3 separate regions of the Homo sapiens genome follow, and all the other regions are linked to region 1. Evidence: promoter capture Hi-C in human tissues and cell types (Jung and others, 2019). All regions are on one chromosome and are shown on one strand. Each heading gives the region's core, a stretch centred on a gene start or on the middle of the fragment in contact. The rest is flanking DNA. Distances are from core to core; before and after follow the strand shown.

Region 1 (3,325 bases), core at 777-3,276:
ATAGGATTCAGCAGTCTCAGGTAGGAAAAAGGTAACCTGGAAAGATCCCTGCATGTGAATGCACACACAGCTTTCAGGGATCTGAGGAAATTCAGCATGTGTAGGATATAGAGGAGATACATGGTAGGAGGTGAAGCAATATGTAATGGTTGGTTCTGTAATATAGGCCCAGCCAAGAACTCTAACCTTTTTCCTAAAAACAATGACAAGCCCATTGTGAGATCTAACCAGATGTACAATAGTAGTCATTCCACTTATAAATTTTTGTAGTAAATGTGTAAACAAATACATTATATATTTGATAAAATCATTTCACAACTTTTAATTTTATTTTATTTTACTGGTATTAATTTGTCCTAAAGGATCATTTTTATTGTGAAACGTAAAATTTGATCTATCTAATATATATAAAATGTATATGTGTACATTTAACAATGTGCATATATGTACCTTAAAATAATATAAACTTTCTGGGCGACGGAGTGAGGCCCTGTTTAAAATAATGATAATAATTTGATATTTTATGCATTAAAAACTTTTGTCTGGGCATGGTGACTCATGCTTGTAATCTCAGCAGTTTGGGAGGCTGAGGCAAGAAGATTGCATGGCCCTAGGAGTTTGAGACTAGCCTGGGCCCTATAGGGAGACTCCATTCCTACAATAATTTTTTTTTTAACTAGCCGGGTGTGGTGGTGTGCTTGTAGTGCCAGCTACTCAAGAGGCTGAGGTGGGAGGATCACTTGAGCCCAGGAAGTGGAGGCTGCAATGAGCTATGATTGTTCCACTGTACTCCAGCCTGGACAACAGAGTGAGACCCTGTCTCAAAAAAAAATTAAATGTTTTGATTATACAAGGAAAATGAACATTCATGTATTAAAGCTTCATGTTTTATGAACAAAACTGACTTTGCAGGCAGGAGAGCGTTTTCTGGGGGCACCAGAAGCAGGGAACTTCCCTTGTCCGTTGGCTTCAGGGCTGCCCACTATCCCTCCACTATCTTCCCATTGTAGCCCTGTCTGGTGTCTTTTGTCCCTGACAAAACCTACAAAAAGTGACTTTAACACTTCAGGCTGCATGCATTTGAAGAGCAATAAGATAACGTTTTTTCGCTTCCCACTACCAGTGGAGATCTGCTGGGGTGGGCTGCATGGAATCTGAAATGATGTCTAAATACTGAAGTGAACCTCTACACTAGAGACTGATATACAGCTGACCCTTAAACGACGCAGGGGTCAGGGATACCGACCCCTGCGGAATTGAAAATGCTTGTATTACTTTTGACTCCCCTAGGTCTTAACTACTAATAGCCAACTGTTGCCCGGAAGCCTTATGAAGTTGCCCGGAAGCCTTATGAATTACATAAACTCCCAGTCGATTAACACATTTTGTATGATATATGCATGATATATGCATAATATATATGATATATGCATTTTGTATGATATATGCATTATATATATTTTAGTATAAGAACTATACTTGTACTAAAACAGACCAGAGAAAGGGTATCAGGAAAATTGTAAGAGGCTCGTTGACATTACACCCAATTAAAAAAAGGAAAATAAAAGAATACGGAAGGGAAAATACATTTACTAATCATTAAGTGGAAGTGGATCATCATAAAGGTCTTCATCCTTGTGTTCTTCATGCTGGGCAAGAGAATGAGGTCTTGCTGTCTCTGGGGCAAGAGGTCGGGGAGCTGGAAGAGGCAGGAAAAGGAGCACACTCGAAGTAACGTTTATTGGGGAAAAAAAACGCCTACGTGTAAATGGACCCGCACAGCTCAAACCTGTGTTGTTCAAGTGTCAACCTACTTAAGACCTCAAACACCGAAGCCCCTCAGTCGCCCTGGAAGGCAGCAGACGCAGCTTCCTAGCGCTCCCAGCTGTCTGCACACAAGGCGCCCTCCGTCGCAGCCTGGGGGAGACTACATTACCCAGAAAGCCTTGCGTCGAGCGGCAGTACTTTGATCCAATGAAAATCCAAGACAGGGGCATTTCCGTGTGGGTCTACCCCCGCCCCCCCCAGGGCGGGACTTGTGGCGTCTTCGCAGCGGTCATTTTGGCTGCCCTCCCGGAGGTCCGTTCTGTCTGTCAGCCGCTTTGGTACGCTGCATCGGGATCGAAGTGACGGACCGTGAAGGCGCGAGAGTCAGGTCTGAGGGTCGGGGGCAGAGCCGCCCGCGAGGCCGGCCTGGGGATAGCGATGCTCGGGTTCCCCCCGGGTCGCCCGCAGCTCCCGGTCCAGCTCCGCCCACAGACTCGGATGGCGACCGCACTGAGGGACCCGGCTTCGGTGAGCGCTGCGATCTCCGGGCCTCCCCCGGCCGAGATTCTTAAGTCCCAAGTGAGAGGCACCAGCTCACGTCTCTGTAGCACAGGGTCGGGGACACTGAGGCTCGTGGGTGGGGCCCCTATTTCTGACATCCGATGTGGTGGGCAGGGGGACAAGGGACAGGACCGGCGCGTGCAGGGCTTGGACGGGCAACCGAGAAGGGGGCATTCAGGAACCTGGGCTCCACATTGTTACTGCAGGGAACAAAGTTTGAGAGAGATCTACCTTTATTCTTAGGGCCGTGGGAGCCATAGAGAGCTTGCGCAAACGAGAGACACCATCTGAGTTAAATTTGAAAAATCCTCTGCAGGCTGTTCAGTGGAAGAAAAGACTTTAGAGATGGATGAGGACGTTGAGGCAGAGGGAGGTTGAATATTTTTCCAAGGCCACACAACTGGTGAGAGGCAGCACTAAGGACCGAGGCGCACAGGTTAGACAGTCGACCCAAAGTTACGTGGCTCTGGGCCGGGGCAAGGGTACAGGGAAGGCCTGTGCCCATGGAGCACTGCCATGATCACATTCCTCTGAGGCCTGCGTCTTTCCACAGGTTCCCATAGCTACAGAGGTGCTTTTCAAACTTACACAGGTAAGTGGAGGTATCTCAGCCCCTCACTGGTCTGGAATGTCCCTCCACCCTCCCCAGACAGATATTTTCTTTAGATTTGTGGTGTCATGGGACTCACCTACCATTCTCTCAGCGTTTGGTTTGGGAACCCTGGAGAATCCCTGAGCTAAGGGCCCTGAGTCCAGGCCAATGTTTCCATTTGGAGCAGCCAATGGAAAGATGGGTGAAAATTTATGATAGAAACAGGTAGGTACCAGCTTTTGGAACTCCTTGGAGGTGAGGCTGAGCTGGTTCAGGGAACTGCAGGTTTCCTTTATTTCTGTGAAGTTTGGCATCTATTGTGAGGAAGTTGGAGTTTGGGATCAGAGGAGGGAGATTTATCTAACCCAAGTGTTGACAGGATACAGAGTGGAAAACAGAATGAAC
Region 2 (3,240 bases), core at 179-2,678, 250 kb before region 1:
CAGCTGGGTAGCATTTTGGTTTTGTTTGTTTTTTAACCTGGAGGATGTCCCCAAATATCAAAACCTAAACTTCTGATTCTTAGAAGTCCTCCCTTCGATGAGTTGCTAGTTTTATTTCTGAACATGAACTTACCAAAACATCCCCCAGAAATCCCCTGGTCTCAGACATAACTCTCTATGCTTCCCATTCCATGGCAGCAACTCAGCCTAACTCATCCAAAGCAAAAAAGCAATCCCTTCTTGCTTAAGTGACACAAGGATCCCCAGATGAACAAGTAGCTGTATCACCCTTCAATTAAATGTAATAATATTTACTTCTGGTGGAACCTCTCCTTCCTTGGAACAAAGGGCCCCCAACCAGCAGAATTTACAATTAAGAAGAAGTGGCCAGACACAGTGGCTCAAGCCTGTAATCCCAGCACTTTGGGAGGCCGAGGCAGGCAGATCATAAGGTCAGGAGTTCGAGACCAGCCTGGCCAACATGGTGAAACCCTATCTCTACTAAAGATACAAAAAATTAGCTGTGCGTGGTGGTGCGTGCCTGTAATCACAGCTACTCGGGAGGCTGAGGCAGGAGAATTGCTTTAACCCGGGAAGAGGGGGTTGCAGTGGGCTGAGATCATGCCATTGCACTCCAGCCTGGGCGACAGGGCAAAAAAAAAAATTAGCCGGGCATGGTGGCGGGCGCCTATAATCTCAGCTATTCAGGAGGCTGAGGCAGAAGAATCGCTTGAAGCCGGGAGGCAGAGGTTGCAGTGAGCTGAGATCGCGCCAATGCACTCCAGCCTGGGTGACAGAGCAAGATTCTGTCTCAAAAAAAAAAAAAGAAAAAAAGAAAAAAGAAGAAGGGTAGCAGAAATTCTGTGAATGAGTTACTAGGTTCAAAAATGAGGATGCTCAATATAATGCATAGGTTCAGAAAAAAATTACGATGAAAAGAATTGTCAAATTTTGTAACTGATACTTGACCTGGTTAAATTTGAATTATTTCTAATTCCCTATGTATATGTGCAGTGAGATAAAAGATAAATATTGTATGTGACATACTCATCATAAAATTATTTGTTGTTTATCTGAAATACATTCTAAATCAGGGGTCCCCAACCCCTGGGGCCACAGATGAGTACTATGGCCTGTTAGGAATGGGGCCATATAGCAGAGGGTGAGTGGCAGATGAGTGAGCATTGCTGCCTGATCTCCGCCTCCTGTCAGATCGGCAGCAGCATTAGATTCTCATAGGGGTGCAAACCCTACTGTGAACTGCACAAGAGAGGGATCTAGGTTGTATGCTCCTTATGAGAATCTAATGCCTCTGAAACCATCTGCCCCCAAACCCCTCTCCCTTATCCATGGAAAAATTGTCTTCCACAAAACCGGTCCCTGGTACTAAAAAGCTTGGGGATCACAGTTCTAATGACATAACTCTTTCCCTGATAATTTGCTTCTACTTAACAATTCCTTGTTTTATATAATTTGCTTACAGAATTCCTGCAGTTACAGTCTTGATGCCATTTATGTTGTGACAAACCTTCGTCATTTGTCATATTCAACTTATTTCATTCCTTTATCTATTGGACATTCATTAATGAGAAACACACTCAACAGTAGCATTCTGAGCCTAAAGACTCATGATGATAAACAGTGTAGAAAACATTACAAACTCTATTATAATTATTCTACCATCTCCATCTGATTTTAACAAAAAAGTTATTTTGTCTCTTTCTTTGGAACTAGTTGAGAAAATCATGCACCTTCCAAAGTTAATATATATTTGACTGTCCACCATTTTCATTAGTCAATGGGCAATTACATAGAGTCGAAGACCTTCAAAGGGAATTTTAAATACTCCTCAGTTCATCATAAATTATAAACTTGCATTTTGACATTTTTTGCATTCAATATACTCAAAATATAGACAATAGCAACTTCTACAAGAGTTGAAAAACATTGTGGGTACAGTGGCTCATGCCTGTAATCGCAGCACTTTGGGAGGCCTAGGCGGACAGATCACTTGAGGTCAGGAGTTCGAGACCAGTATGGCCAACATGGCGAAACCCCATCTCTAATAGAAATACAAAAAATTAGCCAGGCATGGTGCCACGCGCCTGTAATCCCAGCTACTTGGGAGGCTGAGGCATGAGAATCACTTGAACCTGGGAGCCAGAGGTTGCAGTGAGCCGAGATTGCGCCACTGCACTCCAGCTGGGTGACAGAGTGAAACTGTATCTTAAAAAAAAAAAAGAAAAGAAAGAAAAAAGAAAACACTGGAGAAAACGTTGGATTTTACAATGTATGTCTGGGTCAGTTAGTCTACCATTTCATATCCAAACTCATAACTAATTACAAACAGATGGAACCATTGAAAGCTTGCAAACTTTTAAATTATATTCATATAATTAAAATATAAGTAATAATTTATATTCAATTAAGAATAAATGGGGCCAGGCGTGGTGGCTCATGCCTGTAATCCCAGCACTTTGGGAGGCCGAGGCAGGCGGATCATGAGGTCAAGAGATCGAGACCATCCTGGCCAACATGGTGAAATCCCGTCTCTACTAAAAATACAAAAAAATTAACTGGGCGTGGTGGCGTGCATATGTAGTTCCAGCTACTTGAGAGTCTGAGGCAGGAGAATCACTTGAACCGGAGAGGCGGAGGTTGCAGTGAGCCGAGATCACACCACTGCACTCCAGCCCAGCGACAGAGTGAGACTCCGTCTCAAAAAAAAAAAAAAGAATAAATAGATTTTGATATCTCAAGGGAAAAAAAGTGATATTCCTATTTGTCTGCAGGGCAGAGCTGTAGTGGTCAGGCAGTCTCCTCAAACAAAGCCAAAACTGCTATTATATGAGCTTTTAGGAAGGCTGGCCTTCAGGGACTGAGGACTTTCAGAAGCAGCAGAGTTGAAAGACTGATGGACTTTCAGGTATGTTAGTGTAAATGCAACCATTTACCAACTGGCTTTCATAAACAGGATTACTGACAGGAGGCACTTGTGGATTAGTTGTTGCCAGCAGCCTGGGGCTGCCACTGATTGACCATCTTTAGTACTGGGCCTTACCCCCATTGGAAAAATTTTAGAATCTTGGCCTAACAATGATTTGCTAAGTTTCTGGTTAATTACTGGGGTGAAGCTTTTGCTGACTAGCTGACTTTTAAAGCATAGGTACACATCCCAAGTTATCTCTAATTAATGGTGGTTTCTTGTTTATGATTATGGATTTGGGGCAGAGATAAATT
Region 3 (3,152 bases), core at 588-3,087, 260 kb after region 1:
ACAAAATAAAAAATAAAGACTACATCTAACCAGGTAAGGTCACAAACAAGGAAACTCTTCCACTATCAGTTCTCACCAGAGTATTCTGTAACTGTAAAAGATTAGGCCTTCAGCAGCTCAAAACTCAGCATCTGCTGCCTAAGGCTCTGCCACCTCAAAGACTCTTCCTTGTAAGACTGCAGGCCAATTGCCCACCAACTGGCCCAGACCAAGATGCCTTTTGTCTTCCTTGCTCCCTCTAAACTGGTTCCATAACGTTTGCTCCTATATCTTTTTCCTCTTGATGCTAAGCATTATTTTGTTCCTTGTGTTGTAATGCCCAACCTTGTTTTCACTAATCCTGTTTTTAGACTCTCCCTTTTGCTCTCTTAATCACCTAGCCTCGTTTCCACATGAATAGACTCTCGCTTAGCTGAGAAAGCCAGACGAGCTCCACCTGGCCCCCTTGATTTACAAGACATTAAGGACTCCTTACCCACCCCCCTTTCCTCAAGGAGTTAACTTGTGTAAGCAGATTCTCAACATATCAAAGGAGTCCAATTAACTGATAAGGGACTGGGAACAAACCATGTATGAAGTTCCCAGGATTTTGCTCAAAAGATAACACCATAAAGCCTTGAGTTTGTGTCTGGCGTAGTGCCCATATCTAACTCTTATGAAGGATTTAGAGCGCCACACCTGGTACCTTGCCTTTTTGTAACCATTTGTCTTTTAAATTGTTTGTTTCTCTGTAACCATTTATCCTTTTAATTTTTTGCATGTTTTTACTTCTGAAGAGTTGTTGCATTTAAGCTCCCCTCCCCTTCCTAAACCAAAGTATAAAAGTTAATCAAGCCCCTTCCTCGGGGCCGAGAGAATTTTGAGCGTTAGCCGTCTCTTTGGCCGCCAGCTGAATAAAGGACTCTTAATTCGTCTCAAAGTGTGGCGTTTTTCTAACTCGCCCGGGTACAACAGTGTTATGTTTAACCTTTAACATTTACATGTTAAGTATACTATTGTGTATTGTTTGCTATATTGACTGACTTGGGGAGTGTCTTCAGCCTCTGTGCCCATGGCCAACTACCAAGTGAACTGGAATCACAAGAGAATTGCCTCCTTCGAACTCCATTTAGCTCATGGCTTTTGTTGACTCAAATATCACCTGACACTGTGCAAAGACACAAACATGCATGGACCTGATTATCTCTACCCTTACAATGCTCATGACATCCCTCCTTTCTTCGAAAATCTCCATGCCTTCTAGGGTCCTCACGTGAGTTCATAGCCCCCAGCCTGCTTGCTCTTCCAGGAGGAGCTCCGCCTCATAATTTGCTCCCAACAGGCACCTGTGGACCCCAGATTCCATCCTTCTGGCTCAGTTCACTTCCAGGCCTTTGCCCGCGCCAGTCCCTGTACCTGCCGGTCTCCCCACCGCATCCCACGGGTGTCAGAAATGGGGCCCCTCCCGCAAGCGCCTCAGTGTCCCAACGCCGGCGTCCGGGCTGCAGAGCCGTGAACAGGCGCTGCTACCTCGCTGCTTTTGGGTGACGATGAGGTGACCTGAGGACACAGAAGGCCCCACAATTACCTGAGCGGAGAGCCTCAGCGTAGCCGCGGCAGCCATCGAACCACGTGGTTTTAAGCAGAGTCGGGAGGATAGGGCGACCAGCCAGGAGATATGGGCACGACGGTCCGTATCCTGGCCCAGGAGTGGGTCACGCTGGGCGCCGTCACAGAGCTCCAGAGTAGCCTCTGTGCAGCGGAGGACAACTGCTCCCCGACTTCTGGGTTCAGTCACCACAGTGCGGACCTAGCGCTCAGGAGCCTCTCCTACAAATAAATCCAACACCAATCAAAATGGCCGCCACCAGAGGGCGCCGGAAGTCCGGACCCATTGTCACGTGCACACAGGAAACGCCTTTATTCTGAGCCCTCAGAGGTCTTCTACGCTATCATTCGAGGCTGAGTTTTCTGGGTAATGTAGTTCCCTAGGCAACAAGGAGGGTAAAGGGCGCAATTCCCAGAGGCGCTTCTGCAGGAAAAGCCCAGCTTCACCTCGGGAGTATCCTTAAGATGTGCGTCCTGACTGGTATGGTGGCTCCCGCCTGTAATTCCACCAGTTTGGGAGGCCAAGTCACAAGGATCATTTGAGGTCAGGAGTTAGAAATTAGCCTGAGCAACAAAGCAAAATCCTGTCTCTACAAAAAATAAAAAATATTAGCGGAGTGTGGTCGGGCGGGCCTGTGGTCCCAGCTGCCCTAAGGTTGGGGTTAGGGTTAGGGAGCCTGAGGAGGGAGAATCGCTTGAGCTCAGGAGTTCGAAGCTGCTGTAAGCCGAGATCGTACCACTGCATTCCAGCCTGGGCAACAGAACGAGACCTCTTATCTAAAAAATAAAAATAAGGGCCAGGTGCGGGCGGCTCACGCCCGTAATCCCAGCACTTTGGGAGGCCGAGGCAGGTGGAACACCTGAGGTCAGGAGTTCAAGACTGGCCTGGCCAACATGGTGAAACCCCGCCTCTACTAAAAATACAAAAATTAACCCACATGGTGACATGCGCCTGTAATCCCAGCTACTGGGGAGGCCGAGGCAGGAGAATCTCTTGTACATGGGAGTCAGAGGTTGCGGTGAGTGAGATCCTGCCACTGCACTCCAGCCTGGGTGACACAGCAAGACTCCATGTTGGAAAAAAAAATAAAAATAAAAATAAAAAAATAAATAAAAGATTGCAGATCTTTCTCCTAGGCAGAGGATCATCCTGCCTCTCCTTAGAACTCACATTGAGATTTCTTGGGGTTATTGGCTGTAACTGATTACCCTAGTGTATGGAAAAATATTATTTCAGAGTTAGTGTAGATGTTCCCAAAGGCTACAGATCCAAATTCACCTATCATTTCAGATGGTCCTTCAGATGCAAAATTCTTCCACTGGAAGCAAAGATTAATGCAAAGATTAATAACCATTATTGTATTGTTAAAATGAACGTGTAAACACCCAGAGGGTTCATTTTTCCTACTGCCCAGATAAAGCCAATTTATCAGGACAGGGAAATTGCAAAAGAAAAAGAGTTTTATTCACACAGAGTTGGATGAACAGCATACTGGAGTCTTACTAGTATTACTCAAATCAGTCTCCCTGAAAATTGCGAGACTGGGGTTTTTTGTTGTTGTTGT

The links. Contacts are between HindIII fragments. The study calls those that stand out against the background at their distance.
Region 2: a contact is called between a fragment that was not itself captured here and the fragment with the promoter of ZNF211 in region 1, in 6 of the 25 tissues and cell types used here (H1 embryonic stem cells, aorta, dorsolateral prefrontal cortex and 3 more).
Region 3: a contact is called between the fragment with the promoter of ZNF814 here and the fragment with the promoter of ZNF211 in region 1, in 4 of the 25 tissues and cell types used here (heart left ventricle, pancreas, small bowel and 1 more).

Annotation. Positions count from the first base shown.
Region 1 is chr19:57,631,142-57,634,466 of GRCh38, forward strand. It overlaps ZNF211 (zinc finger protein 211), which reads left to right and starts at 2,027. Exons shown (of 4, transcript NM_006385.5): 1 at 2,027-2,295; 2 at 2,882-2,920. The coding sequence starts at 2,206. RefSeq lists enhancers at 1,627-1,716, 1,787-1,836 and a silencer at 2,277-2,346. The HindIII fragment of the contact is 12,794 bases long and covers 1-3,034 here.
Region 2 is chr19:57,383,551-57,386,790 of GRCh38, forward strand. No RefSeq gene overlaps it. Among named protein-coding and RNA genes, the nearest start is that of ZNF548, 4.7 kb to the right of the region's middle. The HindIII fragment of the contact is 6,124 bases long and covers 1-3,240 here.
Region 3 is chr19:57,887,200-57,890,351 of GRCh38, forward strand. ZNF814 (zinc finger protein 814) reads right to left here and starts at 1,838. Exons shown (of 3, transcript NM_001144989.2): 1 at 1,568-1,838. The coding sequence starts at 1,603. RefSeq lists enhancers at 1-714, 739-1,282, 1,283-1,825, 1,499-1,548. The HindIII fragment of the contact is 24,676 bases long and covers 1-3,152 here.